Regions from separate parts of the Homo sapiens genome. Here all the other regions are linked to region 1. The links are contacts of gene promoters, found by promoter capture Hi-C in blood cells and fetal thymus (Javierre and others, 2016). All regions are on one chromosome and are shown on one strand. The core of a region is centred on a gene start or on the middle of the fragment in contact, and the rest is flanking DNA. Distances in the headings are between cores, read along the strand shown. Region 1 holds the start of HORMAD1 (HORMA domain containing 1). Region 2 overlaps ARNT (aryl hydrocarbon receptor nuclear translocator). Region 3 has its middle 10 kb from the start of ENSA.

What was found. The method cuts DNA at HindIII sites, captures the fragments that hold promoters and counts their contacts. A CHiCAGO score of 5 or more calls a contact.
Region 2: a fragment that was not itself captured here is called in contact with the fragment with the promoter of HORMAD1 in region 1 in 6 of 17 cell types (M2 macrophages, M1 macrophages, endothelial precursors and 3 more); the score reaches 10.3 in M2 macrophages.
Region 3: a fragment that was not itself captured here is called in contact with the fragment with the promoter of HORMAD1 in region 1 in 3 of 17 cell types (M2 macrophages, M1 macrophages and endothelial precursors); the score reaches 5.9 in M2 macrophages.

Annotation. Positions count from the first base shown.
Region 1 is chr1:150,719,598-150,722,162 of GRCh38, reverse strand. It overlaps HORMAD1 (HORMA domain containing 1), which reads left to right and starts at 1,268. Exons shown (of 15, transcript NM_032132.5): 1 at 1,268-1,359. The HindIII fragment of the contact is 2,080 bases long and covers 528-2,565 here.
Region 2 is chr1:150,830,723-150,833,287 of GRCh38, reverse strand. ARNT (aryl hydrocarbon receptor nuclear translocator) reads left to right here. Exons shown (of 22, transcript NM_001668.4): 9 at 889-954; 10 at 1,385-1,470. Among named protein-coding and RNA genes, the nearest start is that of CTSK, 24 kb to the right of the region's middle. The HindIII fragment of the contact is 1,247 bases long and covers 654-1,900 here.
Region 3 is chr1:150,638,643-150,641,207 of GRCh38, reverse strand. No RefSeq gene overlaps it. Among named protein-coding and RNA genes, the nearest start is that of ENSA, 10 kb to the right of the region's middle. RefSeq lists enhancers at 1-91, 2,556-2,565. The HindIII fragment of the contact is 4,327 bases long and covers 1-2,565 here.

The DNA of each region.
Region 1 (2,565 bases), core at 19-2,518:
GTCTCAAAAAAAAAAATTTATATATATATATTAAGATATTAATAGTGTAACCATAATTTTTTTTTTTTGAAACAAGTCTCACTGCCGCCTAGGCAGGAGTGCAGTGGCTCAAACAGGGCTCACTGCCACTGCAAACTCCTGGGCTCAAGGGATCCTCCTGCCTAAGCCTCCTGAGTAGCTGAGACTACAGGTGTGTGCCACAACCTCTGCCTAATTTTTTTTATTTTTTGTAGAGACAGGGTCTCACTTTGTTGCCCAAGCTGATCCCCAATTTCTGGCCTCAAGCAATTGTTCCGCCTCAGCCTCCCAAAGTGCTGGGATTATTGGCATGAGCCACCACATCTAGCCAACATAACTTTTATACACATGGAAAACTAAAAAATTGTGTAATTTGCTTTATTATGTTGTTTGCTTTATTGGAGGGTCTGGAACTGAACTTGCAATATCTCCAAGGTATGCCTGTAATTGAATGTTTACACTGGTAAGAAATGTATTTGGATATATAATAATCTGTAAACTAAGAAGCTTGTACTACTGAATAATCTCCAACTATTAATACCTACCCACTCTGATTTTATTTTGTTTCTAAATGAGACAAATTACATTCAAAGCTATCCATTGTCCCCAATGACATAACACAGTGGAAGTGGCTAAGTAGAAGACTGCTAAAGCAAATGGTTTCCTGAAGATACAGGAGATTGGAAGGTGGGAATGCAATTTGTGGTAGTTCCAATGAGAAAATCAAAAGTCAGCCGGGTGTGGTGGCTCACGCCTGTAATCCCAGCACTTTGGGAGGCCGAGGGAGGCAGGTCACCTGAGGTCGGGAGTTTGAGACCAGCTTGGCCAACATGGCAAAACCCCGTCTCTACTAAAAATACAAAAATTAGCTGGGCATGGTGGCGGACGCCTGTAATCCCAGCTACTTGGGAGGCTGAGGCAGGAGAATTGCTTGAACCCTGGAGGCAGAGGTTGCAGTGAGCCAAGATCATGCCACTGCACTTCAGCCTGGACGACAAGAGCAAAACTCCGTCTCAAAAAAAAAAAAAAAAAAAAAAGAAAGAAAATCAAAAGTCAGAAAAACAATCAGAAATTCAGTAACTGCACATGCAGTTACTTAACCTTCCCCCTTCTGTCTGGCTTTTCCACTGCCTGAGACGTGGCGCTGAGGCTTCCCGTGTCTGAGGCTCCCAGTGCGCCTTGCGCTGCGCTTGGCGGGAAAGGTGACCTCGACCAGGGGTCAAAAAGCCACTGTCGCGCCCCAGCGGGTGACCGTTGAAGGAAAGCGCATGCGCGTCGGGCACAGCGCGTGCAGCCTCGTGCAGCTCTTCTGGTCTCCGGCGCCCGCCCCTCAGACGTAATGTAATATATATTAGTGTGTATATATCTGTGTGTGTGTGCGTATATTTTACTTTTTAATCTCTTTGTCTGTCAGCTTCCCCCTACTTTTAAGTTTCTTAAGGTCTTAGTGGTAAAACATTTGCGGTAAAAATGTATACCCACTTACTTGTCAACAGAGGTTCTTGAGATGGGGTGAGTACGGACGGCGAATTCAGGATTTGTCAGGATAAATTTAAACGTTTAACGTAAATAGGTTCTTCTATGAAGTTTGCCTCTTTAGTAAACTCTTCCAGCTGAATTGTCTGATTAAGAAAAGTGAAACTGGGGCCGGACACAGTGGTTCCGGACACACAACTTCCTGTAATCCCAGCAAGTTGGGCGGCTGAGGCCGGAGGATCATTTGAGACCAGCCTGACCAACATGGCGAAACCCCGTCTCCACTAAAAATAGAAAAAAAAATTAGCGGCCGGGCACGGTGCTTCACGCCTATAATCCCAACACCTTGGGGGCCGAGGCGGGCGGATCACGAGGTCAGGAGTTTCCTGGCCAACATGGTGAAACCCCGTGTCTACTAGAAATACAAAAATTAGCTGGGCGTGGTGGCACGCCTGGAGTCCCAGCTACTCAGGAGGCTCAGGCAGGAGAATCACTTGAACCCAGAGGGGGAGGTTGCGGTGAGCCGAGATCGCGCCATTACACTCCAGCCTGGGCAACAGAGAGAGACACCGTCTCGAAAAAAAAAATTGTATATATATATATGGTGGGCACCTGTGGTCCCAGCTACTCGGGAGGCTGAGGCAGGAGAATCGCTTGAACCCGGGAGGCGGAGCTTGCAGTGAGCTGAGATCGCGCCACTGCACTCCAGCCTGGCGACAGAGCGAAACTCCGTCTCAAAAAAATGAAAAATAAAAACAAATAAAACTGAAAAAGTTTAGAGGGTTTGCCAGGCAATTTTTCATTACTGAATACCTACCTGTACAATGTTGTCATTGTTTGAATTTGTATAGGGAATAAAAATAGGAAGATTGTGCCTTTTTAAAAAGTTCTCTTAAACAGTTTCTTAATAACCCATTTGTTTGAGACTTGCTAGTCAAATGGCTTCAAATCAGGACCCTACTCAAAATGGTTCTACTGCAATATCGACCTCTACGTTTTTGAAGACTCTATTTTAATTAAAGAAATTCAAATTTATTCACATAAAATTGTTTTGAATTTTATATGTGGTAA
Region 2 (2,565 bases), core at 28-2,527, 110 kb before region 1:
AAGTGATTCGCCTGCGTCAGCCTCCCAAAGTGCTGAGATTACAGGCCTGAACCACTGCACCCAGCGTGTAATTTAGAGTAGCTTCTAGACCCAGACTGCTGGATTTTGTTTTAATCCATATTCTATGGATTTGAATTCTAGCTTTGATGCTATCTTCTGAAACCTTGGATGATTACATGACTACATTGTGCTTTGATTTCATCATCTCACATTGGCGATAATGTTAATACTGACTTTATAAAGTTGTTATGAAGATTAGATGAATTAATATATGTAAAGATATTTAGAACAGAGCATGACACATATTAACCCTATGTAAGTTTTATTTTTGTTTTAAAGGATAGGGAGAGGGAAAGTAGCATTGGCAGGAGTATCCCAATATGTGGACATGGCTAATGCAAAGACATAGGCAAGAGCAAGATAATAATGAACTGTAGCAATTACATTAAGTTGTGGTTAATGTAGAGCAGGAGTAAGCAAACCACAGCCCTTTATTTGTAAATAAAGTTTTATTGGAACATAGCCATGCCCATATTTTTACATATTATCTATGGCTATTTTCATGCTATAATGCTAGAGTTGACTAGTTGCAACAGACTTTCTGGCCCGCAAAGCTGAAAATATGTACTATCTGGTCCTTTACAGAAAAAGCTTGCCAACTCTTGATGTTGAGAATGTTTGCATATGAAGAACATATGGAACATTTTGACTTCAAATTCTAAAAGTTTTAGAAATACTAAACTTGACCTATCTTTATCCTTCATTATTAGTAGCATTACCAATTTTCTATGTCTGGTTGTATCCAGAGCATGTTATTCTGCTATTACTGTGGAAAGTTCTTTGATAGGGCAGTCTGATTGCTTTTAATCTCTTTATTCCTTGAAACAGGTGTGGCAGTAGCTCTGTGGACCCAGTTTCTGTGAATAGGCTGAGCTTTGTGAGGAACAGATGCAGGTGAGATCCTAAGTGGTGAAAACCAAAGGGATGGCCAAATACCTGCAGAGATCATCACATTTTTACCTGTCTTACTGTAGTCGTTCCTTCAGCAGCTCTCACTTGCATCCCTTACCTCCCACTTAACATCCCTTACCTCCCACTTACTTTTTTTCTGGCAATATTTTCCTAAACTTCTAAAACTTCTCTTGAAAATCCTGTTTAAGGAAGTCGCTATGCTATTTTACCTACTTTCCTCCTACTGCATACCTTTTGGTTACTTTACTTTGGCAAGGGTAAAAATGTGGCGGTCATTTTTGGGTGGGAAAGATGATTATCCTGTTTTCTAAACTCCTAAGAGCATAAACTTAAAAGTACTAAGGCAGCATTGCCCTTTGAGTTTTACGGGTAGATTTTTTTTTTTTTTTTCAAACTCCTGTAACTCTTCTAGGAATGGACTTGGCTCTGTAAAGGATGGGGAACCTCACTTCGTGGTGGTCCACTGCACAGGCTACATCAAGGCCTGGCCCCCAGCAGGTAAGAAAGTGAAATAGTAAATATTTCCCCTTGGTACAGTTGGTTCCTCACAGAGTCCATGAAAGCTAATATTTATTATATACCTGGTATATGAAATGTACTTTTGTGTAAGATGAAAGAAAATAGGAAAAGAAAATGTACAATCCTTCCCTTCCATTATTGAGCTTTTATTCCAGTTGAGGAGATAGATAACTCAGGCTGGAAAATGATTCAGTATTGGCTGTGTCACAGAATGTGGTTTTTATGTGAACAAATTTATACTGAACATATGTATTCTAAGCATTTGTTGCAAAGAAACTTAGACATTGAATGCAGTTAATTTGAGAAAGATTTCTAAAGTAGGAACAAGACTTTGAGAGAAAAGGGGAAAATGCCTTTATTGTAATAACTTATCAAGAGGATATTCTCTGCAAAGACTTTAAATCAAGCTTTGAGCAGATTAGCTTTACCAGAACTTGAGGTCAAACAAGGAATGTGAGAAAGGTGATTGGGTTGCAGGATCAAAGTTTTAAGTTGGCTTGTCAGAGTTTCCAAATCTTAGCAACTTTATTACTTCCCTGCTGCCTGGGTATTATTGGAAAGTAGGGGTTTTGGGGAGACAGAAACTAAGAGAAAAGAGAAGCAAGGTGATGTGTTTTGGAAAAAGGTTAAACTTTGGATGTGGAGAAACCTGGATGTGATTCCTGTCATTGTTACTTATTAGTGGCATCACCTAGGGTAAGTTGCTTGACCTTTATAAAGCTCAGTTTTCTCATCTGTAATTCAGAGTTAGTACATCCTGTATAGGGTTTTTGTGAGGATTAGATTTAATGTAAGGAAAGCATCCAGCCCAGTGCCTGGCATATGGCAGGTAACCCAATAAAAGTAATTAATGTAATTTAAAAAAATTTAACTGAAGTAGTAATGACATTTGAACTACTTAGTCTATATACTATATAAGCCACACAGTTAAAGTATGTGATCTTTCATACCTCTATGTAGCATCAAGGAATACTATTTTTCTGGATAAAAAGAGTATAACTATGCAAAAAACAGGGGAGAAATGCAGTCTTCTTCCCTTTCTGTGTAAAACATTGGTTTTTCTCTTTTCCAAGG
Region 3 (2,565 bases), core at 33-2,532, 81 kb after region 1:
AATGGATTCTCAGGAACATTATGAATATTTAAAAGGGTGAACATTCAGTCTGAGAAAGCTGATTGAAGAAAATACTGAACAAATTTTCTTTTTGTCTTTGAGACAGAGTCTCTCTCTGTCACCCAGGCTGGAGTGCAGTGACACCATCTTGGCTCACTGCAACATCCACCTCCCGGGTTCCAGTCATTCTCCTGCCATGTTGGCCAGGCTGGAGGCTTCAAGTGATCCACCCGCCTGGGCCTCCCAAAATACTGGGATTACAGGCGTGAGCCACACCGTCTGGCCAAAAAATACTCTTTAAATGCTCAAAAAGTAATAAAAGACTTTTTTTTTTTTTTTTTTTAAGATGGAGTCTCACTCAGTCGCCCAGGCTGGAGGGCAATGGCATGATCTCGACTCTGCAACCTCCGCCTCCCAGGTTCAAGTGATTCTCCTGCCTCAGCCTCCTGAGTAGCTGGGATTACAGGCCTGCCCCACCACACCCAGCTAATTTTTTTTTTTTCCCTGAGACGGAATTTTGCTCTTGTTGCCCAGGCAGGAGTGCAATGGCGTGATCTCGGGTCACCGCAACCTCCGCCTCCCGGGTTCAAGCAATTCTCCTGCCTCAGCCTCCCAAGTAGCTGGTTTCATGTGCGTCCGTGTGAAGAGGCCACCAAACAGGCTTTGTGTGAGCAACATGGGTATTTATTTCACCTGGGTGCCGAAAAGAGAGTCAGCGAAGGGAGATGGATTATCATTAATTCTTATAGGTTTTGGGATAGGCGGTGAAGTTGAGAGCAATGTTTTGCGGGCAGGGGTGGATCTCACAAAGTACATTCTCAAGGGTGGGGAGAATTACAAAGAACTTTCTTAAGGGTGGGGGAGATTACAAAGTACATTGATCAGTTAGGGTGGGACAGGAACAAATCAATGGTGGAATGTCATCAGTTAAGGCTATTTTTACTTCTTTTGTGGATCTTCAGTTACTTCAGGCCATCTGGGTGTATACGTGCAAGTCACAGGGGATGCGATGGCTTGGTTTGGGCTCAGAGGCCTGACAGCTGGGATTACAGGCATATGCCACCATGCCTGGCTAATTTTTTTTGTATTTTTAGTAGAGACGGGGTTTCTCCATGTTGGTAAGGCTGGTCTTGAACTCCTGACCTCAGGTGATCCGCCCACATCAGCCTCCCAAAGTGCTGGGATTACAGGCATGAGCCACTGCGCCCAGCCTAATTTTTTTTGTTTTTTGTTTGTTTGTTTTGTTTTTTGTTTTTTGTTTTTGAGACGGAGTCTCACTCTGTCACCCAGGCTGGAGTGCAGTGGCGCCATCTCAGCTCACTGCAAGCTCCGCCTCCTGGGTTCACGCCATTCTCCTGCCTCAGCCTCCCGAGTAGCTGGGACTACAGGCGCCCGCCACCATGCCCAGCTAATTTTTTGTATTTTTAGTAGAGATGGGATTTCACCATGTTACCCAGAATGGTCTCGATTACTAATTTTGTAATTTTAGGAGAGTTGAGGTTTCACCATGTTCGCCAGGCTGGCTTGATCCCAACCCGCCTCGGCCTCCCAAAGTGCTGGAATTACAGGCGTCAGCCACTGCACCCGGCCAAGTAATACTATTTTAAATGAGGTGGCTAGCTGGGAATGGTGGCTCACTCCCGTAATCCAAGCACTTTGGGAGGCCGAGGTGGGAGGACTGCTTGAGGCCAAGAGTTTAAGACCAGCCTGGGCAACATAGTGAGACTCTGTGTCTATTTTTAAAAAATGAATAGTGAACATATATAGCCAGCACCCAAATCAAGAAACAGATCGTTACCAGCACCCTAGAATCCCCCCTCATACCTTTTCCCAGTTGCTATTTTCTCCCTTAAAGGTAACCACAATCTTGACTTGAAATACCATAGATTGGTTTTGCTTTTGAGGTTTATACAAATGAAATTATGAAATATGTATGTTTTGTGACCATGAATTAACTATTTTACTTTTTTTGAAGATTTGATTGACCTAGTTTGGGGCAACTATAAATAGAACTACTATGAATATGTGTTTTGGTATAACATAAGAATGCATTTCTTTTTTAATTTTTTTTTTTTTTTGAGACGGAGTTTTGCTCTTATTGCCCAGGCTGGAGTGCCATGGCACGATCTCAGCTCACCACAACCTCCGCCTCCCAGGTTCCAGTGATTCTCCTGCCTCAGCCTCCCGGGTAGCTGGGATTAGAGGCATGCGCCACCACGCCCGGCTAATTTTGTATTTTTTAGTAGAGACAGGGTTTCTCCGTGTTGGTCGGGCTGGTCTCGAACTCCCGACCCCAGGTGATCCGCCCGCCTTGGCCTCCCAAAGTGCTGGGATTACAGATGTGAGCCACCATGCCCGGGCTCTTTTTTAATTTTTGTGGATACATAGTGGGTGTATATATTTATGGGTTACATGAGATGTTTGATATAGGCATGCAATGTGTAATAATTACATCAGAGTAAATACAGTATTCATCACCTCAAACATCTATCCTTTATGTTTCCAACAATCCAATTATACTCTTAGTTTGCTTGTTTGTTTGAGATGGAGTTTCACTCTTGTTGC